Linked DNA regions of Homo sapiens: regions 2, 3, 4 and 5 are each linked to region 1. The links are contacts of gene promoters, found by promoter capture Hi-C in blood cells and fetal thymus (Javierre and others, 2016). All regions are on one chromosome and are shown on one strand. The core of a region is centred on a gene start or on the middle of the fragment in contact, and the rest is flanking DNA. Distances in the headings are between cores, read along the strand shown. Region 1 holds the start of PPP1R14A (protein phosphatase 1 regulatory inhibitor subunit 14A). Region 2 overlaps WDR87 (WD repeat domain 87). Region 3 holds the start of MAP4K1 (mitogen-activated protein kinase kinase kinase kinase 1). Region 4 holds the start of WDR87 (WD repeat domain 87). Region 5 overlaps SIPA1L3 (signal induced proliferation associated 1 like 3).

What was found. The method cuts DNA at HindIII sites, captures the fragments that hold promoters and counts their contacts. A CHiCAGO score of 5 or more calls a contact.
Region 2: a contact is called between a fragment that was not itself captured here and the fragment with the promoter of PPP1R14A in region 1, in 6 of 17 cell types (naive B cells, non-activated CD4 T cells, naive CD4 T cells and 3 more). The highest score is 8.6, in naive B cells.
Region 3: the fragment with the promoter of MAP4K1 here is called in contact with the fragment with the promoter of PPP1R14A in region 1 in 1 of 17 cell types (neutrophils); the score reaches 6.6 in neutrophils.
Region 4: a contact is called between the fragment with the promoter of WDR87 here and the fragment with the promoter of PPP1R14A in region 1, in 3 of 17 cell types (naive CD4 T cells, M0 macrophages and non-activated CD4 T cells). The highest score is 5.8, in naive CD4 T cells.
Region 5: a fragment that was not itself captured here is called in contact with the fragment with the promoter of PPP1R14A in region 1 in 2 of 17 cell types (naive CD8 T cells and monocytes); the score reaches 5.2 in naive CD8 T cells.

The regions. Positions count from the first base shown.
Region 1 is chr19:38,251,655-38,257,623 of GRCh38, reverse strand. It overlaps PPP1R14A (protein phosphatase 1 regulatory inhibitor subunit 14A), which reads left to right and starts at 1,250. Exons shown (of 4, transcript NM_033256.3): 1 at 1,250-1,485; 2 at 4,650-4,730; 3 at 5,286-5,318. The coding sequence starts at 1,285. RefSeq lists a silencer at 1,271-1,458. The HindIII fragment of the contact is 11,548 bases long and covers 1-5,152 here.
Region 2 is chr19:37,886,794-37,892,762 of GRCh38, reverse strand. WDR87 (WD repeat domain 87) reads left to right here. Exons shown (of 6, transcript NM_001291088.2): 4 at 1-185; 5 at 943-1,211; 6 at 2,487-5,969. The region is part of intron 4 of LOC105372395 (a long non-coding RNA gene); the gene reads right to left. Among named protein-coding and RNA genes, the nearest start is that of WDR87, 17 kb to the left of the region's middle. The HindIII fragment of the contact is 9,115 bases long and covers 1-5,969 here.
Region 3 is chr19:38,615,152-38,621,120 of GRCh38, reverse strand. MAP4K1 (mitogen-activated protein kinase kinase kinase kinase 1) reads left to right here and starts at 3,168. Exons shown (of 31, transcript NM_001042600.3): 1 at 3,168-3,324; 2 at 3,496-3,553; 3 at 3,677-3,767; 4 at 4,862-4,926. The coding sequence starts at 3,226. It overlaps EIF3K (eukaryotic translation initiation factor 3 subunit K), which reads right to left and starts at 1,933. Exons shown (of 8, transcript NM_013234.4): 1 at 1,794-1,933; 2 at 686-784. The coding sequence starts at 1,852. RefSeq lists an enhancer at 2,595-2,644. The HindIII fragment of the contact is 13,708 bases long and covers 2,166-5,969 here.
Region 4 is chr19:37,904,074-37,910,042 of GRCh38, reverse strand. WDR87 (WD repeat domain 87) reads left to right here and starts at 3,449. Exons shown (of 6, transcript NM_001291088.2): 1 at 3,449-3,544. SIPA1L3 (signal induced proliferation associated 1 like 3) reads right to left here and starts at 2,835. Exons shown (of 22, transcript NM_015073.3): 1 at 2,685-2,835. RefSeq lists an enhancer at 2,124-2,183 and a silencer at 2,484-2,723. The HindIII fragment of the contact is 21,411 bases long and covers 1-5,969 here.
Region 5 is chr19:37,950,009-37,955,977 of GRCh38, reverse strand. All of the region lies in intron 1 of SIPA1L3 (signal induced proliferation associated 1 like 3), which reads right to left. Among named protein-coding and RNA genes, the nearest start is that of SIPA1L3, 46 kb to the right of the region's middle. The HindIII fragment of the contact is 1,843 bases long and covers 1,995-3,837 here.

The DNA of each region.
Region 1 (5,969 bases), core at 1-2,500:
CGATTCTCCTGCCTCAGCCTTCCGAGTAGCTGGGATTACAGGCATGTGCCACCAGGCCCAGCTAATTTTTGTATTTTTAGTAGAGATGGAGTTTCACCATGTTGGCCAGGCTGGTCTTGAACTCCTGACCTCGTGATCCACCCTCCTTGGCCTCCCAAAGTTCTGGGATTACAGGAGTGAGCCACTGCGCCCAGCCACATTTAAATTTTAGAGTATAATTATTGCTGCTTATAATTAGAAGTGAGAAGACTGTTTTGAAGTAAGGGACTTCCCTGGCCACCCTCGCTAAAATTGCAACCTTACCCTCACTCCATTTCTCCTTCTCTGCTTTATATTTCTCCAAAGCACTTATATGATAATAAACTGTATAATACCGTACTTACTGTGTTTCTCATGTATCCCGGCTACAACTGTCAACTGCGTGGGACTGGTTTTGTCTGTTTTGTTCCCTGCTCTATCCCTGGAGCGTAAAGCAGTGTCTGGTATAGAGTGGATACTTAATAGATATTCGTTGAACCGGGCCAGTGGCGGTGGCTCACGCCTGTAATCCCAGCACTTTGGGAGGCGGAGGCAGGCAGATCACTTGAGGTCAGGAGTTCGAGGCCAGCCTGGCCAACATGGCGAAATCCCGTCTCTACTAAAAATACAAAAATTAGCCGGGTGTTGTGGTGCATCCCTGTAATCCCAGCTACTTCGGAGGCTGAGGCAGGAGAATCGCTTGAACCTGGGAGGCGGACGTTGCGGTGAGCCGAGATCGCGCCATTGTACTCCAGCCTGGGCGACAAAGAGAGACATCGACTCAAAAAAAAAAAAATTCGTTGAACGGAATGAGTGAACAAACAAATGGATGGATGAGTGAATGAATGAACGAAGGAACAAGTGACCGCTCGACCTTCTACAGCGACAGCGGCGCAGGCGCTCCCGCACCAACAGCCCCCCACCCCGCCACCGCCAGAGGGCGCAGACAGGCCGGGTCCCGAGTGTCTGTCCCAGGCCCCCGCCCCACAGGATCCCGGCCCGGGAGCCCCCGATGCAGGGACCCGCCCGGGACTCTGGGTCCCCGCCCATACCTCAACTTCGCACGACTGCGTGCCTCAAGCCGACGCAGCGGCCTACTCTCGCACTGCAGACGGGGAAACTGAGGCCTGAGGCGGCCGGGGTGGGGCAGACCTCCCGGCGAGCCCGAGCCCCCGCCCCCGGCTAGCCCCGCCCTGGCCCGTAAGAAGCACCCGGGGCGCGAGGCGAAGGCGCACAGCGCGGGGCCAGGCTGGGTCCAGCAGCGCGATGGCAGCTCAGCGGCTGGGCAAGCGCGTGCTGAGCAAGCTGCAGTCTCCATCGCGGGCCCGCGGGCCAGGGGGCAGTCCCGGGGGGCTGCAGAAGCGGCACGCGCGCGTCACCGTCAAGTATGACCGGCGGGAGCTGCAGCGGCGGCTGGACGTGGAGAAGTGGATCGACGGGCGCCTGGAGGAGCTGTACCGCGGCATGGTGAGCCCGGGGAGGGCTCGGGGGTGGTCGGGGACAGATAGAGCCCGGGCGCGGAGACCCCACGCCCTTGGGGTCTCGGTGCACACTCGCTGGTGCACGGCCAGCCTGGTCTGCACAAGAGGACGAGCGCCCCAGGGCCGGGCACTCATTGGCCTGGCCATCCGTGCTCTATGGCATTGTGCTTGTGGACACACCGAGAGCAACACACAAAGACTTGGGTCTCCAGAGATGTGTCCAAACGCCTGTGGAGGGCCAGGGGTTTAGCATGAGGAGGGAGGAGGCTAAGTTGAGCTGAAACCGCCACGTCTGGAGAAAGAGTGGGGGAAGGGGGGTGTCATAAAGCCAAACACAGACATGGTGACAGGGGAGATACAGCCACACAGAGACCCACGGCAAAGGAAGCAAAAGCAGACACAGATGTGCACAGTGAAGGAAGCTATAGCCACTCACGGACACAGCCCAGAAGTAACAGCCATGCACAAACCCACAAGGACACAAGCGGGGGCTGGGGGGGGGTCACCTACAGTTCAACATATGCTACAGTCACAGCCACCCGCAGACACAGCGGCATGGGCCACAGCCGTAGGCAGACACAGCACAACCCCACTGGAACACAAAATGACTCAAGTTACGGCCCTTCCTTATCTCCTAAAGAAAAAACTGACCACCTTCAAGCACAAGCGCTGATCCGCAGCCACTCAAAGACATAAAACAACAGAAATTGGCCCAGCACAGTGGCTCACGCATTTTGTGAGGCCGGGGCAGGAGGATTGCTTGACGTCAGGAGTTCAACACCAGCCTGGGCAACATGGGGAAAACCTGTCTCTACCAAAAATCTTAAAACTTAGCCGGGCGTGGTGGCATGCACGCACTTGTAATCTCAGCTCCTCAGGAGGCTGAGGTGGGAGGATTGCTTGAGCCTGAGAGGCCAAGGTCACAGTGAGCCAAGATTGCACCACTGCACTCCAGCCTGGGCAACAGAGCGAGACCGTGTCTCAAAAACAAACAAAACCCAACAGAATTTATAACTACACCCAGACATAAAACTGTGTAAGCACCGGGCACGGTGGCTCACGCCTGTAATCCCAGCACTTTGGGAGGCCGAGGCGGGCGGATCACCTGAGGTCAGGAGTTTGAGACCAGCCTGATCAACATGGAGAAATCCCGTCTCTACTAAAAAATACAAAATTAGCCGGGTGTGGTGGCACATGCCTGTAATCCCAGCTACTCGGGAGGAGAATCGCTTGAACCCGGGAGGAGGAGGTTGCGGTGAGCCGAGATCCCGCCATTGCCCTCCAGCCTGGGCAACAAGAGCGAAACTCCGTCTCAAAAACAAACAAACAAACAAAAAACTGTAAGCTATAGGAACAGGTGGACATACAACTGCAGAACCCACCGCTGCTCACAGGCACACAAGAGCCTAAGCCACAGCTACATGTATTGACACACACAGGTACTTCATCACTTGAGTTTCTGCTTGAAGTCACACTTTCAGTGACTTCTTTTTTCTTTTCCTTAGAGGTGGGGCCTCATTGGCCGAGCACAGTGGCTCACGCCTGTAATCCCAGAACTTTGGGAGGCCAAGGTGGGCAGATCACTTGAGGTCAGGAGTACGAGACTAGCCTGGCCAACATGGTGAAACCCTGTCTCTACTAAAATTACAAAAATTAGCCGGGCATGGTGGCAGGCAGCTGTAATCCCAGCTACTTGGGAGGCTGAGGCAGGAGAATCACTTGAACCCGGGAGGCGGAGGTTGCAGTGAGCCAAGATCGCGCCATTGTACTCCACCCTAGGTGACAGAAGGAGACTTTGTCTCAAAAAAAAGAAAAAAGAAAAAGAGATGGGGCCTCGCTATGTTGCTCAGGCTGATCTTGAACTCCTAGGCTCAAGCAATTCTCTCTTGTCGGCCTCCCAAAATGTCAGGATTACAGGCGTGAGCCACTGCGCCTGGCCTTCTGTGACTTCTGTATGCTACAGTGTACACAGGACCCACGAGTCCTCCTCTTCATGGTGCGACAATGGTGGAAGGCATGGCCCTTCTCCCATGGTGACATGCAGTCCCTCTGTTCTCAGACTCACACCTGGGCCCATACAGGTGAACCAATCTGGTTGCTAGTGGCAGGTGGCATCTATGAGGCCATTCTCAGGTGGTGGGCCCCACAGCTGACTGTGGACACATGCTGATGTGTCACACACCCAAGCCAGAGCCACACACCTCACACCTGCAGGACCACAGTCCACTATACGAAGCCACTGCACGATGCCAGGTCCCTCTGCATCCTCGGCCAGCCCCAGGCCCTTGGCATCAGGCTGTGGCCCTGGCAGAGACTCACACACCTGTGTCCTTGCTGAAGCCCCTTCACCACACATGAACCAGGACCATCCAGCCCTGAAGCCCCAGGCCTGAAGCCGACAGCCGGACTTTGGGTTGGGGAGGAAAGGATTCATAACCCCAAGGCTCTCTTGCTCCCTCGACAGCTGGGGACAGCTGGGTCCTATTCCCAGCAGGGGTACTGAGCCAGCCTGCGCTTGGGCCACTGCCTGTAGAGGCCACACTCAGCGCCCCGCTCTTAGCAGCTGAGTTGAGCCATGACTCATCCCACCCACCCACCTTGAGGGGCCTCGGTGGTCCTCCCTTCGGTCTCACCAGGCTGCATTTTGGCCCTCTGGGGGCTGGCCCAAGCCGTCCCCTCCCTTCCTGTCCCCTCCCTTCCTGTCCCCTGGGGGAAGGGGCCGCCCCAGCTGGCTGCTGGCTGCCAGCCTCTCCTCCCCTGCACCTAGTGCTAAGACTTTTCCTTGAAAGGGCAGAAGCCAGCTCCTCTCCCGAATCCCAGAATCTGACATTCCAGGACTCCACTAGGCCTGTTTTCCTCTGTGGGAACTAGAGCCAAGGCGAGAGACCCGTGCCAGCCCCGAGGCTCCCGGGGCCCATGGGCCCAGGCATCGGGCTGGTACAGGGCCCCGGGGCTCTCTCAGCCCATCTGTCACCCCTCCCCCCCAACACCCAGATGTCCCGTCTTGGCAGTGCTGTCCCGGACTGCCACATTAATGCTCCAGAACCCGCCAGCTGGGCCCTGGGGCCGGTGGGGCTCCTGCAGAGCCCTGGACAAAGGCGAGGGAGGGAGGGAAGGGGATCCTAAGCACCCCTCCCTCCCTGGCCCTAGGAGGCAGACATGCCCGATGAGATCAACATTGATGAATTGTTGGAGTTAGAGAGTGAAGAGGAGAGAAGCCGGAAAATCCAGGTAGGTGGGGGGACGTGTCCCCCAGCCTCCCACTTTGCACCTCCCTAAAAATAATAGCAATAGTTCACGTGTTTACTGAGTGCTCACTAGATGCCGGGCACTGGTGTGATGGCTTTACATGTATTCACTCACTTAACCCTCACAAAACCCTCCGAAGCAGGCGCTAGTGTGAGCTCCATTTTCCCCATGAGGAAAATGAGGCCCAGAGAGGTTGAATCCCTTGCCCAGTGTCACACAGCTCAGAAGGAGCAGAGCTGGGCATCGAACCCAGGCAGTTTGGCAGCCATGTCTTTGCTTATGGCTTATACCTTTTTAGAGGAGGGAAGTGCTGTGTGACCCTCTCGCCCTCTCTGGATCTAGTAACTCACCCCTGCCCTGAGTCGATCCACATGCCCCTTGGGCTCTGTTCCTCTCTTGAAGCTTGGTGGGCAGTCCACCCTGGAGTCTGACTTCCATTTGTCTTGCTGCTGGGGCCTTTTGGGAAAGGGAAGGGGCTGGAGGGGAGTAGGTGTTAGTCATTTACTGTTTTGTTTTGTTCTTGGTTGGGGGTTTTAGGGACTCCTGAAGTCATGTGGGAAACCTGTCGAGGTGAGTTTTCTCTCCCTCATTCTCTCCCTGTTCTGGCCCCAAGTACTCTGATGGGGGAGGGGGAAGAAGCTGGCAGAAGGGTCTCTGGGGAACACCACCCGGCCCCACCACCCCCGGCCCCAACCTGCCCTCCGCAGCTCTTTCTGGTCTCCAGGGGTGTCTTTTGTCCTCCTACTTGTCTCTCTCCCTCTCTCCCCCATCTGCTGAGGGGGCTCCATTCTGTCCTCCCCCATCTGCCCTGTTTTTGCCTCTCCTGTGCCTGTCCTTTGGCCACCAGCCTTCGGGCTCAGTCTCCCTCTGTCCTCCCCTGTCACTGCCTCCGCCACCCCGGGCTCCCTTCCCCACCTCTGGGGGCCCTCCATCCTCCCAGGCCCTGAAGCTGAGCGGCCCAACCCCTCCCACTTCCTTCCCTGCTTTAAAAGGGAAAACTATTCATGTTTCTCCAACTAGCTCTAGGGACAAACGTCATTGCATTTCTGTTCGCCCTGGATCTATCTCTGGGGACCTGTCTCCACATGTCTCTGTTTCTTTCTCTGTCCTTATGTCTCTCTCTGTCTCTATCTCTACATGTCTCTCTGTTTCTGTGTCTGTTTCTCCCCCTCCCCCACTCCGTATCTGTCTCCTTGGATCTCTATCTCTCTTCCTAGCTCT
Region 2 (5,969 bases), core at 2,485-4,984, 370 kb after region 1:
TGGGAAGGGCTGAAGCGTCTAGGAATGATTACTCATCTTTTTGCCATGCCTCTGGCTCAAGGATTAATGGACAAGGATGAAAGAGTGAGGATCAAGACCCTAAGCCTCATGGCTGAGATTGGAATCCACTCTAGGACCTCACTCTTACAGCTGACCCAAAAACAAGAGACTTTTCGGGAGATGCAGTAAGTTTGTGCTTCCTTCAATTCTTCACCCCATTCGCCATTTTCCCCCTCCTTTCCTTTGCTATTTCTTCATCCCTGTTCATTAATTCTCCCTGATGTTTCTTCTTTCTCATAGCCTTTGCTCACGCCTAGATGACTATCCTTGACAATCCCGACTGTTCACTCCTCTTCCTCCTCCTCTTCCTTCTTTTTTTGAGACAGGGTCTTACTCTGTTGCCCAGGCTGGAGTGTAGTGGCGCGATCTTGGCTCACTACAACCTCTGCTTCCCAGGCTCAAGCAATCCTCCTGCCGTAGCCTTCTGAGTAGCTGGGGCTACAAGCATGCACCACCACACTGGCTAATTGTTTGTAGAGACAGAGTCTCACTATATTGCCCAGGCTGGTCTCGAACTCCTGGGCTCAAGAAATCTTCCTGCCACCTTGGCTTCCCAAAGTGCTAGGAGTACAGGCATGAGCCACCATACCTGGCCTGCTCACTCCTTTCTCCATTGCTTTTCCTATGTGTCCGCTACTTCTTCAAGTTCCATTTTCATCCTTTTCTCCTGCTTCTACAGCCTCCAATACAGATCACTCCATTCATTGCCACCTTGGCTTCCTAGATAGTTTCTTTTGTCTCAGCCATTATTTTCCTCTGCATATGCCATCTCTCTTGGCCACTTTGCCAAGCCTCCTGCCTGTTCCACAACCGTTTTTTGCTTCCCATTCTCCCTTTTGTTCCTGACTCAGCATAGTCCTTCTTCTCCTTTGACTTTCATAGGCAGCAGATGATCGGGGAGGAACCCCTGGACCATCTACTGGGGATGCGGGCCACAGATCTCCAAATCCTTTCCACTCAAGTGGAGCAGAGATTGAATGAAAACCTGACCCTGTCACATAGAGATGAAAAGCCGGCTTTTTCTTTAGATGTCTCAATGCCTTCTGAACTTAAATCCTCCCTGAAACCTCCTACAGTTTCTGAAGAATCTGAAGTGGCCATCAAGCCCAGCAAAGGCCAAAGACGAGGCCAAGCAGGGGTCAAAAAGCATAGTATGTAAGGGGTAATCTGGTCTGTGCCTCAGGGTCCCCAAGAGGCAGGGTAGTTAGGGTTAAAGTGGATCAAGAGATACTAGGTGGGCTGGCGGGACATGATGGCTCATGCCTGTAATTCCAGCACTGGGACGCTGAGGTGGGCAGATCACTTGAGGTCAGGAGCTCGAGACCAGCCCGGCCAACATGGTGAAACCCCGTCTCTACTAAAAATACAAAAATTAGCCAGGCATGATGGTGGGTGCCTGTAATCCCAGCTATTTGGGAGGCTGAGGTGGGAGAATCACTTGAACCCAGGAGGTGGAGGTTGCAATGAGCAGAGATGGTGCCACTGCACTCCAGCCTGGGTGACAGAGCGAAACTCCATCTCAAAAAAAAAAAAAAAGAGAGATACCAGGTGGGAAGAGAGATAAGTGGAAAGATCTCATCATAGAAAAGACACTCTCGGGTGAGGGACTAAGGGAGGGCTAGCATTAGGAGAAATACCTAATGTAGATGATGCTGGGTTGATGGGTGCAGCAAACCACCATGGCACCTGTATACCTATGTAACAAACCTGCACGTTTTGCACATGTATCCCAGAACTTAAAGTATAATTTTTTAAAAAAATGTATAGATAAGGAAATTATAGTGTATTCATAAACTGAAATACTACTGTGATAAAAAAGAGTGATACATGCAACAACATGGAAGAATCTCAAAAACTATTGAAAGAAAGCAAACACAAAAGAGCACATTTTTTAATGATTCTATTTATTTGGAATCCTAAAAAAGGCAAATGAATCTACAGTCACAGAAAGCAGATCAGTGGTTGCCTAGGGCCAGAGGTTAAGGGTAGATAGATGTTGACTGGGACACTATATAGGAGGGAATTTAGGGGGATAATAGAAATGCCTTATATCCTGATTGTGATTGCAGTAATTACAAAAGTGTATACATTTTTCAAACTCATCAAACTGTTTGCTTAAAATGGGTATATCCTGTTTAAATTATACCTCAGTAAAATTGATTTTTATGAAAGCAATGAAAAAAAAAGACTTTCTAAGGAAGGATCCACTCAAACTCAGGAAGACTCTAAGGCCTAGCTCTCTAGGATTTGGCAGGAGTAGGGGGCTAGGAATAAAGCAAAGAGAATGCTTTTTTTTTTTAAGGCCTCAGTTCTCTCTGTTGTTACTTCTTATATGACAGTTCTTCTTAGCTCACACCTAATATTGGGAAGGGTTTCATGTCGCTTCCCATACTTTGCTTACCTCCATCTCTCGATTTTTACTGCAGGCCAAAAATGGTTGCGGGGTCTCAAGAAGACGAAAGAGAGAGACTCTAAACAGATGAGCACAGAGCCAGGCCTCTTAGAGGATGAAAGTGGGACTGAGGCCGCACCAATTGAGATGGAGGAAGCATCCGTCTATTCCCAATGGTCTTCAAGCACCAGTGTAATAAAGCTCTCAAAAGATGTTGATTCTCAAGAGAAAGATATCTCGAAGGATCACATTGCATTGACCCTGAAGAGGCTGCAGAAAATACGTGACAAAAGAGACAAGAAAGCAACAGCTCAGAAACTCAAAAAGAAGCACAAAAAGAAGGGAAAAGAAGCCAAAGTTATAAATGAGGAAACTACACCTCCTGTAATGGAACAGCCAGTTACTAAAAAGGTTAAAATCCAAGGGCGGGGAGCCTCTGGAATATCTGGCCGCAGGTCAACCGCTGGAGATGGCTCATCATGGAGGGACGATCTATGTCGTCTTATGGCCCTGAGGATATCTGGTTCCCAAACAAAAATGTCAGAAAACCTAAACGCTGAGCTAGTGACATTTGCTCAGGAGATGCTGGTAGATAGGCACCCCAGCTGGGAACTCTTTCAGGAGATCTGCCCCCTATTGAAGAAAGAAAGTAAGGTTCTGCTTGAGGACCTTGATTGGGATGTAGTCCCGCCAGAGAAGAAACCAATTTTTATCCAGGAAGGAGCAATTAGAGAGGACATGATACAAGGTGTGACCCAAGAGGTGATCAGACACAAGGAAGTGATGCCAAGGGAAGAAGAACAAGCACAAAAGAAAGCAAGAGACATGCTGGGCTTGGAGGAAACCCAAGTGATTTTGAAAAAGGGCAAGAAAGTTATTTTTTTAGAACCAGGTAATGTAACCATGGGAAAAGAAATATCAAAGAAAGAAGAGAAGAAAACCTTTCAGAAGTCACCTAAGCAAGGGAGGAAAGCTGTCCAGAAGGAAAGAAAAGTAGGAAAAATAAAGAGGGAAATGACCAAAGAAGAGAGGGATATGAGTGAGGAAGTGGAGGAAATGGCCACACTAGAGGAGAAAGTGGTCAAACAAGAAGGAAAACTGGTTATGATTGAGAGGACACCATCTTGGCAGGACTGGAAAAAGGCCTGGGATGAGTGGAAACAGGTCCATGGTGAGACAAGGAAATCCTGGAAGGCATGGAAGGAAGAATGGGAGAAGAGGCTTCTTCAGGAAGAGGAGAAACTACATCAGGCTGGAGAGAAGCTATCCCCGGAGGAGGAAATGCTTCAGGAGGACAAGAAGCTGAAATGGGAGGAGTGGAAACAAGTCTGGGAAAATATGTTATCATCTAAGTCCAAGGAGCAACAGTACAAGGATGAGGAAGAAGTGACTTTGGAGGAAGAAGTGTCTCGGGAGGGGGAAGAAAAAGAACAGCAGGTCACAGAAGAGCAGAGACACATCCAAGAAGAACACAAATGGGCCAGAATACACAGGAAACGAGCCCGAGCTGAAAAAAAACGAGCCCAAGAAGAGAGGAAATTAGCACAAGAAGAAGAGAAACTTGCACAAGAAGAGAGACAGTTGGCCCAGGAAGAGAGAAAACTGGCCCAGGCATACGTGAAAATAACCCAGGATGACAGGGAAATGGCCCAGGCAGAGGGTAAGTTTGCCCAGAAAGAGGAAACACTGGCCCAAAGAGGGGAGAAGCTAAGCCAGGAGGCGGAGAAATTGGCCCAGAAAAGGAAGAAACTGGCCAAGAAATGGGAGAAAGTGGCTAGAGAAGAAGAGAAACTAGCAAAGAAAGGAGGGAAACTGGCTGAGGTGAAAAACATATTGGCCCAGAAAGTGGAAGAACTGCCCCAGAGGGAACAAAATCTGGACTGGCAAGAAAAGGAGCTGGCCCAGGAATTGGAGGAACTGGAATGGGACATGGAAGAACTGTCTTGGAAAGAAGAGGAACTGAATCAGGAAGAGGGGAAACTGGTTGAGGAAAAGAAGAAACTGGCTGAGGAAGAGGAGGCATTGGCCTGGCAAAGGGAGAAACTGTCTGAAGAAGAGACAAAACTGGCCCAGGAAGAAGAGTTGCTGATCCAGGAAAAGGAGAAACTGGCCCAGCACAAGGAAAAAATGCCTGAGGAAGAGGAAAGACTGGGACGGAAAAGGGAGCAATTGATTGAGAAGAAGATGAAACTGGCCCAAAAAAGGGAAAGATGGATCAACAGCATGGAAGAACTCACAAAGAACAAGATGATACTGTACCAGAAGAAGAATCTGGCTCAGGAAAAGAAGAATCTGGCCCAGGAGAAGGAAAAATTGGCTCAGAGGAAAGAGAACCTACTCTATAATAAAGAAAGACTCACCCACAGCAAAAAGCAATTAGTGCAAGTAAAGAACAAATTGGGAATGTTCAACAAGATACTGGCTCAGGTAGAGGAGAAGCTGACACAGGAAAAGGAGACTGTGATCAAGAAGAAGGAGAAACTGGCTGAAACAGAGAAAAAATTGGTCCAAGTAGAGGATAGTTTGGCCAAAAAACAGGAGAAATTGGCCCAGGAAAAAATGAAATTAGCTCTGGAGAAGGCAATGGTCCAAGGAAAGAAACGGCTCAGAGGAGAGTTGGATATTGCTAAGGAAGAAAAGGCATTGAACCTGGAAATGAAAAGACTGGCTGAGGAGAAGATGAGACTGGTTGAGGGAAAAGAAACACTGTCTAAGGGAGAGACTCCAGAAACTTCTAGACAAAGGAAAATGACTCAAGTTGAACAAGAACTATTTGAGAGAAAATTGTCACTAGAGGAGAAGATACTGCTACATGAAGACAGGATATTGGCCATGGAGGAAAGCGAAATTGCCAAAGGAAAACTGGAATTTACTAGAGGACAGAGAATATTTGTCCAGGGGCAAAGAAAGTTAGCCAAGGCTTCAAGGAAGTTGATTAAAAAAAGGGAGAGCCTTTCCAAGGAACCAGCAAAACTGAACAAAATCTTAAAGGCACTTCAAAAACTAACCAGGGATGAAAGGAAACTAACACAGGAAGAAATAAAAATGACAAAGATGAAGAGGGCACTCTTTGTTAAGGAGCGCAGGTTGAGTATAGAACAGAGTAAGCTGGATATCAAAGAGTGGGATTTTTCTGAAAAACGATCAGAACTGACTAAAGATGAGAAGAAACTGGCTCGGAAGCAGAGAAAACTGGCCAACAAAATGAGAAGAATGATAAACAAAGAAGAAAAAATGACTGAGGAAGAGAGCAAATTGGCCAGAAAGCATTCAGAAGTCATACTGGATGATGAAGAGGAAGGAGGAATAGAAGAAGAAGAGGTAATCCCATTCCTTAAACGAAGGTGGAGAAAGAGGAAAGAGGCCAAGAGAGGTGACAAACCAAAAGAAAAGTTTTCCAGTCAAGTGGATGAAGTGGAAAGTGAAGAGCATTTTTCTGAAGAAATGGAAAGCCTGTTAGATGAACTAGAAAAGCAAGAGAGTTTGTCTTCTGAGGAGGAGGAGGAAAGGGAGGAAG
Region 3 (5,969 bases), core at 1,919-4,418, 360 kb before region 1:
GGCTTAAGCGATCCTTCCACCTCAGCCTCTCAAGTAGCTGGAACTACAGCCACACACCGCTACATTAATTTTTAAATTTTTTCGTAGGGTTGGGTCTCGCTATGTTGCCATGGATGGTCTCGAACTCTTTGGCTCAAGTGAGTCTCTCGCCTCAGCCTCCCAAAGTGCTGGGATTACAGGCATGAGCCCCTGCGGCCACCCTAATTGATTTTTTATTATTATTTTTGAGACGGAGTTTCGGTCTTGTTGCCCAGGCTGGAGTGCAATGGCGCGATCTTGGTTCACCACAATCTCCGCCTCCTGGGTTCAAGCAATTCTCCTGCCTCAGCCTCCCGAGTAGCTGGGATTACAGGCATGTGGCACCACGCCTGGCTAATTTGGTATTTTTTAGTAAAGATGGGGTTTCTCCGTGTTGGCCAGGCTGGTCTCAAACTCCCTACCTCAGGTGATCCGCCTGCCTCATCCTCCCAAAGTGCTGGGATAACAGGCGTGAGTCACCGCGCCCGGCAATTGATTTTTCAAAAACCATCCCTCCTCCTGTCCCAACTTCCTTGGCTTCCTAGTCTTGCACACCAAGAGATGCTGCATTGTTCAGGATACTACCAGCCACCCCCTTGCCCTGTACTGGGAGTGGCACCCTGCTAGTTGCTGCAATGGGAGTGTAGACAGAGAGCTAGACACTTACAGCTTCAGGACAGCCAGGTTGGCTTCCAGATCATAGGCATTTTCCTTGGCCTGCGTCTCTACATAGCGCTCCAGGGTGGCCAGGTTCTCAGGATTGTACCTAAAGGAGAATCAAGATAGGTGAGCACAGAGGAGACAGAAGCTGAGGCCAGCCACCTTATGGAGCAAGGGGCCACTGTAACCTGCTCCTCCCGCCCTTCCCCTCTAAATCTGGCACTGGCCACTTGCTCTATCCAGGTAGTGAATTATGTCCAGTATAATCTCTAGTAAAACTTATTCTTATCCCAGACCTCTCGCCTAAGCTCTAAACTCCACTGGAGCCCTGGCTCTTCCCTAGGATGCCTCCTCAACCTCTGAGCCAGTCAGTCACTGCAGCTTGTACACCTGGCCTCCTGAATGTCTCTGCTACTCACCCCTTCCTCCCCTGTTCAGGCCTCCACCCTGATCCAGCCCCATCCTCTCCTGCCTACCTCGCTGCCTACTTCCTCCATGTCCACCTGAACACTCTGGCCTTTGCTTCCCCCATTTCAGTTCTAATCTCTCCCGGCTATCGCTGTCTGCTGTCAGGTTTGTCTCCCTTATGGAAAGGGAACTCAGACCGTGAAGGCATGATCTGCCGCTGTCTGATTCGCCTGTGGTTCCCAGCATTGCCTAGCACTGACAGTTTATTTCAGTAAACGTGTGGAGAATGAATGACTTATAGAGCAGAGAAGGGAGAGATTAAGAGGCACTCAAAGGAGGCGGAGCAGAGAAGGAAACCTTAAGGCAATTTACGAAGAGACTGAGTGGTACCAAGATTCTCTCGCTTCTAGGCCTTTGCAGTGCTTTTGTTTCTTTCTTTTAGAGACGGGGTTTGGCTGTTGCCCAGGCTGGTCTCTAACTCCTGGGCTCAGGCGACCCACCTACCTCGGCCTCCCAAAGTGCTAGGATCACAGGCGTGAGCCACTACCCCCAGCTCAGTGCCGTTTCTTTAAGCATCTCCTCCTCCAGGAGGATAGAGAAACCCCACCCCGCGGCAAGCCCAGGACCCTGAACACCCCTTGCTGTCTCCGGAAAACCCTCTCCTCCGCCCCGCTTGGCCAGAGCGCTTCCTCCAACCGGGCTCAGACCTGTCGATACCCTTGAGCAACTTGCCCACGTTGGCTCTCATCTGCTCAAACATCGCCATGACTTCTGTCGCCTTCCACAACCAGGGCTGGAGGCTAACACTGACCCGGCACGGCGTCCTCAAGGACGGGAACAGGAAGAGGTGGTGGAAACGGAAACGACGTCGTTGTTGTCGCTCCAGCTCCTTGGGTGCGGTAAAGGGAAAGGCTCTAGCAGCAGCCGCCACGCTTTCCGGCTGCCACGTGACTTCTTCCTCGCAGGCGCAATTGGCGCGTGCGCATTCGCGCCACTCAAGCTGGACAGACAGCGTGAGAAAAATCTTACTGGATCCCAGTGCGCAGGCGCCTCTCGTGGCGAGGGGGCGGGGCTAAGCTTTTCCCGGGCCTCACAGACCCAGTTCCAGTGCCGGTAGCGCGGGAGCGTGCGCGCGCGAACTCACCGGGAAGCACCCGGAGCTCTGGCGGCGTGCGCGCGCGTTGTATTGCGCGCGGCCATGAGGCCACGGAGCTCTGCGGGAATGCACGCAGCAGCCTTACGTTTAGGCCATGGCCAAGTTCCGAGGGAGGTGTTCTGAGGTCCCTCTTGCCACAGGCCTGGGCGCCTGGTGCAGGATCCTGAGCTCTCCAGTTTCAAGTCTCAGCCCTTGGTCCCCAGCTCCAGGAGGAGGGTCCCACAAAGCTACTGTGCTCTGCCGGGCAGGGGCTGGGGTGAGGGCTCCTGGACTTCGCCGGATCGCGCCCCGTCTCCATTAGGTTCCGGTCTTGGAGCTGAGGGCGAGCGTCCCATTTGTACTGCCATGAATTATATATTATGTATAGGTTTTGTACACTGCAGGCCTACAAAATGCAGTTATGTGCCATGCATGTGGAGGTATATGTCCTGGGTACATCCACGTGTGTACTGTGCACACAGGTATCCAGGCAGATGCACGTCTACACGCCTGCGCAGTGCAGAGGAGGTAACCCAAGTGCATGTATGTGACAGGTGAACAGGCATGTACACTGCATAGCCATCCCTTTGCAGACCTGCCGCCTTCGGGTTGTGGCCAAACCTTCAAGCACCCAGCAGAGGTTTAGACACTACCTAGGAGACGGGGGCGGGGGTTCTAAGGCACCCCCCTCCAACCCAGTTACGATTAAGATCATTTGCATCACATTTACATCCAGCCCTGGGCCTTGGAGGTTGAGGGTGGTCCCTTGGGTCCCAAGACAAGCTGCCCCTCAGAGGCTCTCAGAGCCCAGGGGACGGGGGGGTGGAGCCCGTTGCACAGTCGTGCAGTGCAGCTGGGGCAGGAAGCGAGAGTGAGGAGGGGGGAGGCCACAGCCCGCGGAGGCAAGGCGGGTGCAGGGCTTCTGGGGACGGAGGGAGGTGCCAGAAGTTGAGCCCTGAGGCCCTGCTGGCCCCTGGGCGCAGGCCCAGCTCAGGCCCCCAGGGATGGACGTCGTGGACCCTGACATTTTCAATAGAGACCCCCGGGACCACTATGACCTGCTACAGCGGCTGGGTGGCGGCACGTATGGGGAAGTCTTTAAGGTGAGGAAGCCCCTCTGTCCCCAACACCCTACAACCAGTGACCTTTAAGGCAAGCCCTCGGCAGGGAGGAGGCTGCAAGAGGGGGTCCCAGTTCTTGACCTTGACTCAGGGATGCTGTGGAGGGACTCTGGCAAATGGAGCCTGCCTGACTGCCAACTTCCCCTTTGCAAGGCTCGAGACAAGGTGTCAGGGGACCTGGTGGCACTGAAGATGGTGAAGATGGAGCCTGGTGAGGAGGGAACATGGAGCTCCTTCCCCACATCCCCACCTTCGCCTCCTGGGACACTGGGATCACCTCCCCTGTAGCTCTCTCCCCATGCGAGCTGCCTTTTCTCTCCCGCCCTCCTCACAGATGATGATGTCTCCACCCTTCAGAAGGAAATCCTCATATTGAAAACTTGCCGGCACGCCAACATCGTGGCCTACCATGGGAGTTATCTCTGGTGATGAACCTCAGACCCACCCTGGCACCCAGCCCAGCCCCTAACCCGGAGTCCCCATTTCTTGATGGGGGTACCCTCAGTTCTTTTTTTTTCTTTTCTTTTTCTTTTTTGAGATGGAGTCTTGTTCTGTTGCCAGGCTGGAGTGCAGTGGCATGATCTCAGCTCACTGCAACCTCTGCCTCCTGGGTTCAAGCAATTCTCTGCCTCAGACTCCCGAGTAGCTGGGATTACAGGCGCTCACCACCCTGCCCGGCAAATTTTTGTATTTTTAGTAGAGATGGGGTTTCACCATCTTGGCCAGGCTGGTCTTGAACTCCTGACCTTGTGATCCACTCGCCTCGGCCTCCGAAAGTGCTGGGATTACAGGTGTGATCCACCGCGCCTGGTCTTGGCACCCTCAGTTCTAACCTTGAACTTCCATTTCTCACCATAACCCGACCTCCCATCCTGGACCCCCATTTTTGACTGGGCTAACCCTACCATGATCCTCACTCCTAAGTCCCACTTTTCTGACCAGAGCAGCCTCTAATCTAATCTCCAATCTAAAATTCCCATTTCTGACCAAGAGTACCCCAAATTGATCTCTTCATAGTAACTGAATTTGAAATCAACTCCCTTGAAACGAAGCTCTCACCATTCTGCTCTTTGGCTCACCCAGTTTCACTCTCTGCTCCTTTAATATAAACTCCTAAATTCCCTGATCCCCAAATTAATATTCCAGATGCCCCAATAATGACCTCTGCTCCCCAGAACAGGTGCCCTGGGCCCCTCTGTCCCCTCCAAATCTCCACAACCCGTGAGATCTCTGCCCTGCCTCCTAGGTTGGCGTGGGACGGCAGTGGGGTCCCGCCCAAAGGCCTAGGTTTGAGTTGACTTGCCCCGGAACTCACATTTCCTCTCTGAGCCTTAACTTCCTTGTCTGTAAAATGGGAATGAAACAACCTCACTCTGGTAGACAAGGAGAGGTGGAGTGATGAGAGCTGTTACGTTAAAGTTCTTATTGAACTAGAACAAGACAGAAGCAAACCAGGGGCTTTCCTGCAAATAATAATGTATTTACTGCTATTATTATTCTTACTCTTGAACCACTGCAGGTTGCAGAAACTCTGGATCTGCATGGAATTCTGTGGGGCTGGTTCTCTCCAGGACATCTACCAAGGTTAGAGAAAGGACAACGGGACCCAAGCACCCCTCCCTATCCCCACCCCCCAACCCCGACCCAAATTCACCTCTTCCGTCTCTGTGTGTGTATCTCACAGGAACTGTCTTTCTGGGCCATATTTCAAACTCCTGGGCTGAGCTGATCCTCTTGCCTTCAGCTGTCGAAGTGCTGAAACTACGGGCTTGAGCCACTGTGCCTGGCTTTTTTTTTTTTTTTTTTTAATATAACTGCTGGGCCTGGTGTGGTGGCTCACGCCTGTAATCCCAGCACTTTGGGAAGCCGAGGTGGGCGGATCACCTGAGGTCAGGAGTTCAAGACCAGCTTGGCCAACATGGTGAAACCCCGCCTCTACTAAAAATACAAAAAATTAGCCGGGCGTGGTGGCAGACGCCTGTAATCCCAGCTACTCGGGAGGCTGAGGCAGGAGAATCGTTTGATTCTGGGAGGCGGAAAACCTCTGATTCCTTCCAGCCCTAGACCTCAAATGTTAGAAAAGGAAGGACGTCATTGAGAAGTCCTCAGGAGGGAAACTGAGGCCCAAAGAGAGGAAGTGAATCCCACAGCTGGTCTGTCAGACCTGATGTCTGACGGCCTCTCTCTGTCTGTCTGTCTCTCTGTCTCTCTGCCTGTGTGTTGTTCTTACCTCGTTACCCTCTGGGTCTCTCTCTAAATCTGTCTGTCTCCCCATATTTTGGCCTCTGACCTCTGTCTTTGTCTTCTGTCTCATTTTTTTGTTTTTTTCAATCCTGTTCCTTTTGTATGTCTCATGTATGATCTGTCTCCGTTTCTCTGTCTCTCTCTGTCTCTGTGCCTTTCCTTATTTTGCAAAGTCACATGACGCCCCTGCTCAGAGCCCTCCTACAGCTTCCATTTCTCTCGGAGGAGAAGCCCAGACTCCTCATCAGGGTCCACCCCATGCTGGCCAATCTCACCTCCTCCCACTTTCCTCCTCCCCCTCCACTCCACCCCACCCCCTTTGCTGCTTTCCAGACCCACCAGGGACTATCCCACCTGGGGCCCTGCACTTGCTGTGGCTGGTC
Region 4 (5,969 bases), core at 2,200-4,699, 350 kb after region 1:
TAACTCTTAGATCATTCATTCTACACTGACTGCTAAAAAGCCACGTGCTGCTTTTTTTTTTTTTTTTTTAAGCCACTGCTTTACTTCTTCAGGTTAGCAAAATGCTTAGGTAAATTTGTTGGCCATCACAAATGTGATTGAGGCCACCGGTTTCTATCATCAAATGAAATCACAATGACAGGTTTCTGACAATAAACTCAACCTAAGGGGAGCGCTAATAAATTCCCTTCCCAGCCTCTTCTTGGGTGTGTGGTATGTGTGCTGCCTCCTGAAATGCCCAGGATGGCCACCCTCCCACACGGGATATTCTAAGCCGCTGACACCATCTAACTTTTCTGAAAGAAATTAACAACTCAGCCGATCTTTACCAGGCTAAAATCACAGAACTGGGTCCCCTGAAAGCCAGGCTTTCATGCCACATCCACAGCCACTGCTGTCTAGCCAAGTCTATAACATCTTCTTGCCCTTATTAATACATATGTTACATAGGTTTACGTATGTTAATCCCTAATGACTTGACTTAACCTTGTCACAGCCAGGCGCGGTGGTTCATGCCCTACAATCCCAGCACTTTGGGAGGCCAAAATGGGTAGATCACCTGAGGTCAGGAGTTCAAGACCAGCCTGGCCAACATGGTGAAAACCCCATCTCTACTAAAAAAAAAAAAACTAACCACGTGTGGTGGCGGGCACCTGTAATCCCAGCTACTCAGGAGGCTGAGGCAGGAGAATTGCTTGAACCCGGGAGACGGAGGCTTCAGTGAGCTGAGATTGTGCCACTGCACTCCAGCCTGGGCTATGGAGCAAGACTCCGTCTCAAGCTGAGGGGAACTTTCAGTGCCCATCAGATGGGAGACCAATATGGGCCAATGAAATGGTGTTTCTATGAAATGGCAGCTTCGTCCTTCTTGCTAGTTGACTGGATATGGGAAGGCTGGGGAAGAAGAGCAACTCCCAGGTTTCTGGCTTAGGCAACCAGGTCAATGCTGGCACATTTGCCAAGATGGTGACTACTGGTTCCAGGAGGAGAAGGAGTTCAGGTTGGACATGCTGAGTTTATGGTGCCCAAGAAACAGCCACTTCTTTGAGCCACAGCATCAAAGAAGCACAGGCTCCACATCTGGAGCTGGAGTGCAGGGGACTCAGTGGCTTTGGGACACAAAGGCAAAAGCTGGCAGCACCAGGACAATAATTAAAGCACTGGAGTGAACATACTGGCTCTGTGGGGAGGGGTGTGTGAGCAGGGGACTGCTGATGGCAGGTCAGACCCATTTCTTCTTAGGCCTTTCTACTATAGTGTGTTCCATAATTTAATCTTTGGTAAGTAAAATTTGGGAGGGAGGGGGAAGATAAAAAAACACTAACTTTGTGCTCACTCTGCCATGTAGGTACAAACAGAAGCAAAAAGGGCCTATTAAAAAAAAAAACAGCAAGATACATTTAATCATTTAATAAGCACTTACTGTGTGCCGGGCCTTGTGCAAAGCACTAAACATGAATTATCTCCTGGAACCATCCAAACAATCCTGGCACAAAAGTCCTATGACTACCATTCCACAGATGGGACACTGAGGATGGGAGCAAATGTGTGGGGGAGCTCAGGGCTGTCATGTCACAGCCCACAGTCAGGCAGTCTCTGGGCCAGATGGAGAATATTGAAGAACAATTATAATACATAAGAGCTGCTACTTAGTGAGAGATGGCGCTGGACTAGAAATACAATCTCAGCAAATCCTTACAACCCTTTGAGAGTGATCTTGTTATTATCCCATTTTGTAAATGAGGAACCTGAGGTAGTAGGAAGGGAAGTCAACTGGACCAGTTCTGAATCTGGCCCTCGGGGGTGACCAATACTACGGCCAGAGCCCCACCCTCAGAGGGTCTCTGGGCCACTAGGAAAACGCTGAATAAATGGTACCATTTACTGAGCGTTATATGCCAGCTGCTGTGCTAAGCACTTTACACATGGTATTCTCACTGCATCCTGAAAACAACTCGACGAAGTGGTTGCTATTTAAATCCCCATTTTATAGATAGGGAAACCAAGGCACAGAGAGGTGAAGCCAGTTGCCCAAAGTCACACAGCTGGTAAATGTTCAAATTTGAACCTGGGGTCTCTCTGCCTTCCAAACCAACGCTCTTAACAAAATAATCTCGGTTAACAGCAGCTAGCCTGCATTGGGTGCTAACTAAGGACTCACCTCTTTACATGCACACGCTCAACTAATCCTCACCCTATGCAATCGATAACATCTTCACCTCATTTTTCGGAGAGCTAACAATAACCCAAATACGTAGTAAGTGCCTCCTATGTGCCAAATGTTTTATTATATTATCTCAACAGAGTCTCCGCCAAGATGCTCTCCTACTCCGTTTTACTGCAGGGGAAATTGAGGTTCGGCGCGGTTTTCCCAGATCGCGGCTCCCGAGTGGCACAGCCGGGACGCGAATCCACCGCTCCCCGCCTCCAAGCTCTTCACCACAGCGCCGGGGTGCACGCCTGGAAAGTTGAGCCATGCGGGCACGAGTCCGGCTGGGTCCGGAGGGCGCGAGTCCCGGCGCCGCCGCCCCCCACGGCCAGTACCCACACCCGGCCGTCCGCCCGCGCTGACCCTCGGGGTCCGGGCAGCCACCGATTCCCCGCCACCCTTGCGCGAGGCCGATCCTGCACCCGGAGCCACGTACCTGGACGCCCCGGCTGCCCGCCTCGCGGGCCCCACGATCGCGGCGTCCAGCTCCGCGCCGCTCGCTGGAGACGCCGCCAGCTCCGGTGGCCCGAGTGACTTCCAGGCTGCCCACTTCCAAGCCGCTTCGCGCGAGTCCTCCTGGGAACTGTAGTTTCGCCCTAGCCGGCCGCGAACTCAAAAAGAGAATGGCGCGCGGGGGCTGCCGGGAGCCGTAGGCGCACCGCCGCGCTGCCTCCTAGGAACGGTAGTCCGCTGGTCGCCTTCGTGCAGCTCCAGTCTGTAGAGCACTTCCGCAGCCCCGAGGGGCGTGAGGGAGGGAGGTGTGTCTCCTGCAGACTACAGCTCGAGAGCCGCGCTCTTCGCCCCGCCGGGGCGGTTTCTCCTTTCTCCTGGCCCCGTCTACCTCCTCCCTTCATTCGGCGGAACCTCTCCCTCACTCTCTGCCAGGCTCGAGTCACTTACCCCTAGGACGCTAGCCCGGGGGAAACGGGGGAAGCGGAGCAGTGCGCTAGACCCCCAGCGGAGGGGGCGGTGGAGGAGGGCGTAGATGCACGCCCGCGCACGCGCGGTCGTCGGCAGACCCCGGCCTAAATTGCCGCGGGACCCCGCGGAGAGGATTTTTTTTTTTTTTCTTTCGAGAGCGCGCGCGCGTTCTCGCGCCGGGCGCGCGCCCATGCGCACGCGCGTTCAGACCCCTGGCCTCGGGAAGTCCGCCGGCTGCGGGGTTGGGGGCCAACCGTTCTGTGGGCGGAGTCCTCTCGCAACATCCGCCAGGTAGCTTCTTAGTTGCTGCCCCTAGCTCTAGGAGCTCCTGAGTGCACACGCCGTACCCGTCCCTTGTCGGGAATCCTGTCGCAGGTAACAGGCGCAGCCAATGCTTTGAGATAGAGACGCCCTGCCTTCCCTGCCACGTGCAGGAGGCCCGAGGGTGAGGGGCCCCAGGTGTAGTCGCCTGTCCCCGGCGTAGGCGGCTCCAGAGCTCTGCCTTCGACGGGAGCCACAAGACCCAGGGGCTGCCTAGGGGCCTTGTTATCTTGCATTCTTTTGTTGATCGCACATTCCTGAGGGTAACTAGTGTTTGTAGAGTACCTACACCTTGGGAAATTTTGTCCAAATTTAATCCACCTGGTGACATAACCAAGCAGCGGAATACCCCGCAACACACACTCCTTTTTTAAGGTATATTGCCACTCCTCCATAAGAGTTACCGAGGGAATTGACTGGAATTGCAAGGTCCTCTGGTGGAGAAGCCGGAGTCAATACCCTTTCCGCCTCAGCCTGCCTTCTAGGAAGATGTTCACTAACACTTGAAGCTGGGAAGCATATGTTTCTTCCTGGGAGAGCACATTTTTCCACTCATTCAACAAAAATGGATTAACCACCTATTCCATGTCAGGTTGGGTGATTATGGAGACACAAGAGAAATCCAGACAGACTGGACTCCTACCTTCAGGGAGTTTTCAGTCCAGTAGGGATATCAGGCCACCACCAGACTACAACAATGTAGAGCAATACTAGCTAAGAGAAATATACCCTGCACTTTGAGCCACCGAGGCAGGAGGATCACTTAAGGCCAGGAGTTGGAGACTGGCCGGGTAACATAGCAAGACCCTATCTCTACTAAAACTAAAAAACTAGCTAGGCGTGGTGGCATGTGGCCATAGTCCCAGCTATTTAAGAGGCTGAGTATCGCTTAAGCCCAGGAGTTTGAGACTGCAGTGAACCATGATTGCACCACTGCCCTCCAGCTTGGGCGACAAAGCAGAACCCTGTCTCTTTAAAAAAAAAAAAAATTATATATGTGTGTGTTTTTATGTGTAATGCAAGCCACATATGCAATTTTAATTTTGACATAAACAGGTAAAATTCATTTTATTTATCATTATTATTTACTTTTTTTTTTCTTGCTATGTTGCCCAGGCTGGTATTGAACTCCTGGCCTCAAGACATGTTCCTACCTCAGCCTCGCAAAGTGCTGGGATTATAGGCGTGAGCCATCTCACCCAGCTATGAAATTAATTTTAATATTTTATTTAACCCAAATATATCCAAAATATTATTCCAAGTTAGGTTAATGGAAAAATGTTTTCATTGCTTCAGTTCTACTTTTTTTTTTTTTTTTTTTGGAGACGGAGTCCCACTCTGTCGCCAGGCTGGAGTGCAGTGGCGCCACCTCGGCTCCCTGCAACCTCTGACTCCCTGGTTCAAGTGACTCTCCTGCCTCAGCCTCCCAAGTAGCTGGGATTACAGGCAGGCGCCATCACACCCAGCTAATTTTTGTATTTTTAGTAGAGACTGGGTTTCACCATGTTAGCCAGGATGGTCTCGATCTCCTGACGTGATCTGCCAGCCTCGGCCTCCCAAAATGCTGGGATTACAGGCGTGAGCCACCATGCCTGGCCTCAGTTCTACAATTTAAGTTAATTAAAATCAAATAAAATTAAAATGTTATGAGGCACTAACAAAGATACTCATTTGCGGCATTAGCTGCAGTAGCAAAAGGTTGGAAACTACCGAATGTCCATTAATAGAAATTTGAATAAATAAATGATAGTTCAGCCACACGGTGGAATACCCTGCAGCTAGTAACTGTTGGGAAATGAGTTATATGTATTAATATGAATTAGTCTTAAAGGTATATTAAGAGAAAAGTGAATAACAGTGTATATAGTATACTATCACTTGCATAAGAAAAATATTTTTGGCCAGGCACAGTGGCTCACGCCTGTAATCCCAGCACTTTGGGAGGTGGGCGGATCACTTGAGGTCAGGAGTTTGAGACCAGCCTGGCCAAAATGGCGAAACCACATCTCTGCTAAAAATACAAAAAATTCGCTGGGTGTGGTGGCGCACGCCTGTAATCCCAGCTACTAGGGAGGCTGAGGCTCAAGAATCACTTGAACTCAGGAGGCAGAAGTTGCAGTGAGCCAAGATCGCGCCACTGCACTCCAGCCTGGGCGACAGACAGAGACTCCATCTCAAAAAAAAAAAAAAAGCACACACACACACAAAAGAAAGACACAACCAGAGTTACTTCTGGGAAGGGGAAACAGAAGGACAGCTGGTCAGGTGTGAAAAGGTGACTTTTTTTCCCTTACCTGCTCCTTAGTACATTTTCAATATTTTACCATGTCCGTTTTTAAAAGTTGTTTAATGGCCGGGCGCAGTGGCTCATGCCTGTAATCCCACCACTTTGGGAGGCCGAGGCGGGTGGATCACGAGGTCACGAGATTGAGACCATCGAGGCTAACATGGTGAAACCCCGTCTCTATTAAAAATACAA
Region 5 (5,969 bases), core at 1,667-4,166, 300 kb after region 1:
TTGGAAAACAATCTGGCAGTTTCTTAAAAACTTAAACAGAGTTACCAAATGACCCAGTAATTCCACTCCTGAGCAGAAATGAAAACATGTCCACACAAAGACCTGAACATAAATGTCTATAACAGCACTACTCATACTAGCCCAAACTGGAAACAATCCAAGTATCCATTAACGAATAATGGTAATGAAATTATCCATTCATGGTTAACGAATAAACAAAATGTGGTTTACCCATACAATAGAATATTATTCAGCAATAAGAACAAATGAACGACTGATATGAGCTATCACCTGGAGGAAGCGCAGAAACATTATGCTAAGTGACGGAAGCCTGGTACAGAAAAGACTACATACTGTATGACTGCATGTATTTGAAATGTTCAGGAAACGCAAATCTACAGAGACAAAGAGCAGGTTAGTGGTAGCCTGGGCCTAGGCGTGGAAGCAAGGACTGCCTGCAAAGAGGTACAAGATGGATATCTTTTGGGGTGGTGGTAATATTCTAAAACTGGATTGTGGTGATAGTTATGCAGCTTCACAAATTTACCAAAAACAGCTGAATTGCATACTCTTTTTTTTTTTTTTTGAGACAGAGTTTTGCTCTTGTTGCCCAGGCTGGAATGCAATGGTGCGATCTTGGCTCACGGCAACCTCCGCCTCCTAGGTTCAAGCGATTCTCCTGCCTCAGCCTCCTGAGTAGCGGGGATTACAGGCATGTGCCAACACACCTGGCTAATTTTGTATTTTTAGTAGAGACGGGGTTTCTCCATGTTGGTCAGGCTGGTCTCAAACTCTCGACCTCAGGTGATCTACCCACCTCGGCCTGCCAAAGTGCTAGGATTACAGGTGTGAGCCACCATGCCTGGCCTTTTTTTTTTTTTTTTTTTTTGAGAGACAGCATCTCACTCTGTCACCCAGGCTGGAGTGCAGTGGTGTGATCCCGGCTCACTGCAACCCCCGCCTCCTGTGTTCAAGCAATCCTCGTGCTTCAGCTACCCAAGTACCTGGGACTACAGGCATGCACCACAATGCCTGGCTAATTTTTGTATTTTTAGTAGAGACAGGGTTTCACCATGTTGTCCTTGCTGGTCTCGAACTCCTGGCCTCAAGAGATCTGCCTGCCTTGGCCTCCCAAAGTACTGGGATTACAGGCATAAGCCACTGCGCCCAGCCTGAATTGCATATTCTGAATGGGTGACTTTTATGGCACGTGTGTATATATACACACATACAGGCGGTGGTGGTGACAACTTCTGTAACCTAATCACCTCTGGACTTCCCACTCCATATGAAACCGCCTGGTTCTTAAAGCCGAGAGGCTTCACGCTTGGATGTGCTTATCACTAGGGGTTTACGGAAACTTAACAGATACAGGAGTATCTTGAAAACAGTGTTTTCAAGGGAAGCAATGTTCAGATCCTCAACATCCACAAGTTCCTCTTCCTAAAACTGATCTGGCTGCAAACCAGCCTGTCTCCTTCCCCACTGCCCACCCGCTGTTGTGCACTCCCCCATTTTCCCAAGGAGCACGACCGAGAGGTGTGTAAACCTCCAGGACTCCAAACACACAACATCAATATTGGTTTCGGGGAAGTAGCCTTTAGTGAACAATAAAAAGCTACTTAAACCCCCAGACTTGCCTGTCTTTCCCTGACTTAAGTATCTTTCTGCCAAACATGAAACTGGGCTTTAAAAATAGGATTTTCTGAACCATAGTAGGATCATGAATGTCAAAGCAGTATAGGTTAGTGGCTCTGATTTGTTCAAAGGGAACATTTTTCAGGACCACTGAATTTTTCTAGATCCACCAAGAAAAAATTCCCAGGGAAAAATTTACATGATTGCTTTCAGCTTCTGTGTACTTTACTCAATAAGGTAGTAAAAACTTTTTTTTATCTAACCACATCATAAAATATTTCAATTACATTCGACCTTCAAAATGTGTACTATTTTCTTCTCCCACAAATAAGACAAATTTAAAGTTACCATAAGCTTATTTTAGATGTTAGCTTTACAGTGTACAAGGAGGTATACAGGGGCTTATCAAAATTCTTTTGGGGAGGATGCAAGCAAAAATGTTTAACGATGATCAGATTAAATTTGAATAATCCTGGCTAACCCATGCCCTAATTCCTGGTGGCTGAGCTGTAGGAACTCAGCATGGGGCACAAATTCTGGGGAAAGCAAGATTTCAGACAATGGCAAAATCACACGTGCCTGGGGGTACAGCCAGCAGCGAGGAGTCAGTCAGGCCTCACAGCCCCTTCTTTCCCAGCTTTCAGGGGCCTCAAAAGCAAAGCTGCTCAAGGGAAGATTTGAAAAGGGATTTTCTGAACCGATAGGTCAATTCAAAAGATTTCCTTTCATTCGAGTAAAAGGGCTTTCGCCCCTCCTTCACCTCAAGTAAGTTTGGCACGCATGCACACACATACACACACACACACATGAGGAATGCATTCACCTTAAATTACCTTGAACTAAGTCAGTGATTACCCTCTTGAATATTTCCCACTATTAGCAAAATTCCTCCTAAGAGCAGACTTTGTTCCGAATTGGTCATGAACTCTATCCAGCTCTTTCCAAAGTTACCTGGGGAGGTACACACTGGGTCAACCATTATCCTAATAAAGTGCACAGATCTGACCAAATTCCTCCTGAAACATGATGCGATACGCCAGGTTTAGCGGCCAGTGTGCAAGGCTGGGTCATGGGCAGGAAAGGAATGTTTTTTTCCAAAGAGGAAAAAAACTGCAGACTTAAACTCTACTTTCATTCATTTGAGAAGGATCCTGGGCCCCCTCTATGGATAGGATTGTAAGCTGAGAATGCGGGTTCACGCCATTCTCCTGCCTCAGCCTCCTGAGTAGCTGGGACTACAGGCCTCCGCCACCACGCCTGGCTAATTGTTTTTGTATTTTTAGTACAGACGGAGTTTCACCATGTTAGCCAGGATCTCCCGACCTTGTAATCCACCCACCTCGGCCTCCCAAAGTGCTGGGATTACAGGCGTGAGCCACCGTGCCCGGCCAAGAATCCTCTGTGCATACACACACTCTGAAGTGTATGCAATCACCCAGGATGGTGTTCAAAATGCAGATACCCAGGCCTCAGGCCCCAAACCAGAATCTCCAGCAATGTGGAACAGAGCTGCTGTATTTTAACAAGTTCCCCAGGCCAGTCTGTTGATCACATAAAGCTAAGAACCGCCACTCAGGAAAGTCTAGCAAAGTGGTTCTCAAATATCTGATTCATACAAATCATTTCTGGAGAATTATTTATTTATTTTTATATTTTATTTTATTTTTGAGACAGAGTCTCACTCTGTTCCTCAGGCTGGAGTGCAATGGCACGATCTTGGCTCACTGCAACCTTCACCACCCGGGTTCAAGGAATTCTCCTGCCTCAGCCCCCTGAGTAGCTGGGATTACAGGTGCCTGCCACCACACCTGGCTAGTTTTTGCATTTTTAGTAAAGACAGGGTTTCACCATGTTGGCCAGGCTGGTTTTGAACTCCTGGCCTCAAGTGATCTACCCACCTCGGCATCCCAAAGTGCTAGGATTACAGGCATGAGCCACTGCGCCTGGCAGAGAATTTTTTAAATTTAAATATAGATTCTAGGGTCCACTAAAATTACTGTATTACTTAGGACTCTTTCGGTTGCAAGTGGCAGAGACCCAATTCAAACTGACTTGAGGGGAAAAAGGGCCAATGTTTTGGCTCCCATTACTGAGAAGTTCAGTTACCCAAAGAATTTGTCTGTAATGAATTATTTCCATCTCCTTTCCACTCGACCCTCTGAGCAAAGATGGTCCCCAGGCCCCCAGCAGCATTAAGCTTACACTCTACAACTTGGCACCTCCATAGGAAGAAAGCTCCTCTTCTTTCCTGGGAGCTCCAGAGAAAGACCTGTCTTAATTCTGATTGGACTGACTCACCTCCTCCCTTCCTTGAACCAATCCCTATGGCAGGAAGATAAGGAATGACCTGAACTGCCCAGGCTACTCCTAAGGCATTTCTAAGTCCAAACCAGGTAGACCAGGACATTCCACAACAGTGGGGCTTTTTTTTTTTTTTTTTTTTTTTGAGACAGTCTTGCTCTGTCGCCAGGCTGGAGTGCAGTGGTGTGATCTCGGCTCACTGCAGCCTCCGCCTCCTGGGTTCAAGTGATTCCCCTGCCTCAGCCTCCCGAGTAGCTGGGACTACAGGCGCCCGCCACCATGCCCGGCTAATTTTTTGCATTTTAGTAGAGACGGGGTTTCACTGTGTTGGCCAGGATAGTCTCTATTTCCTGACCTCGTGATCCGCCCACCTCAGCCTCCCAAAGTGCTGGGATTACAGGTGTGAGCCGCTGCGCCTGGCCCGGGGCTTTTTTTAAGTTGTTTTTTTTCCCACTTCTGTTTCTAAAACTTCCTTCTAGAAAATGTGAAAAATATACAAAAGTTTAAAGAGGAAGATGAAAATAATCTGTAAAGAGGAAGATGAAAATAATCTGTAATCATCCTACCAACTAAAATTTTTAGATCTTCACACTCAAAGCTGTGCACATGAGCACTGGTCTCCTGATTAGAATCCTATTCTGTACAAAGGATGACACTGTGGTTGAGTCTTCATGACAATTCTCCCAAAACTGAAGATAAACATTGTAGTCATTTTCATGTTTGTTCAGCCAACACTGGTTTGCTTCCCTTTTCCAGTTAATTTGCTCTTGTTTGTAACCCCTCAAGATGTGGGTATTTCCTAAGAAGAATCTCTGGATCACAGTACAATTATAAAAATCAGAAAGTGACAGCCTTACGGTACTGTGATCTAACGGACAGACACAATTCCAGTTTCAAGGGCATATTCCAGATTCCCTGCCATATCCCCAGTGCCTGGGGTAAATAATAAATTGCACACAGCGGTCTCAGTAAGTGAACGGACGGGATGGAGGAAGAGCAGTTCCCAACAGGAAAACCCCAAAAGAATGGTGAATGGTTGTAGGGCGGCCAAACCAGCAGATGATCTTCCTCTCCACCTGCGGGAGCAGATGCTCCAGGAGTGAAGCCAGAGAATCCCAACTGTTACCAAGATTCCCCAGGTGATGCCAACCCACAGCCAGGTTTAAGAATCACCGTCTGGGGAATAGATATAACCAGACACAAACACAGCATTTCCCCAGAAGCTTCTTCCAGATCTGCCTTTCACAAGAGAAGAAGGAAAAGTGCCGCATGCCGGGGTACTGGGGACAGGCGGATCAGACCTGGGAGGGCTCGCAGCGGAGGGAGCAGCAGACGGGCTTGTGGGGAGCAAGCGCCAGTCTCGGCACAGAAGGGCCCCGCGCAGCCTTCATGACAGAGGCGAGGCAGGCCCTAGAACCAAGCCCGCCATCAGCTCGCGTTCAAGTGTGATCAGGAGCTGGGGCTGCACTGAGCAGGGAACTTGGGATCTCTTGAATTTCCAGTCGCCCCAAATCTCAGACGACAAACGTACATCCAATGATCGAGCCCTGTAAGCTCTTTCTTGTCCTTACTACGCAGATGAAGAAACCAAAGCTGTTACTCACTTGGGCAAGGTCACAGAGCTGAGATCAATCCTACGCTCTTTATTCCCAAGTCCTATCTTGAACTGTAGAGCACCATCCGGCCTCAGGAAGGAAAAGTAAGGATGACAACGATGATGATGAAAACTAATACTTTGAGTGCTTACTGTGTATCAGGCTCAGACTGAGTCCTTTACCTAAGTTTGTCTAATGCTCTGAACCACACCCTGAAGTAAAAGGCTTTAGCATCCTCATTTTACAGGTGAGAAAACTGCAGCCCCAAGAGTGAGGTGATGAGTCCAAGGTCACACAGCTAGCAAGTGGCAGAGCTCTGAATCCAGACAATGTGGTCACACTCTTTTTTTTTTTTTTTTTTTTTTTTGAGACACAGTCTGGCTCCATCGCCCAGGTTGGAGTGCAATGGCGCCATCTTGGCTCACTGCAACCTCT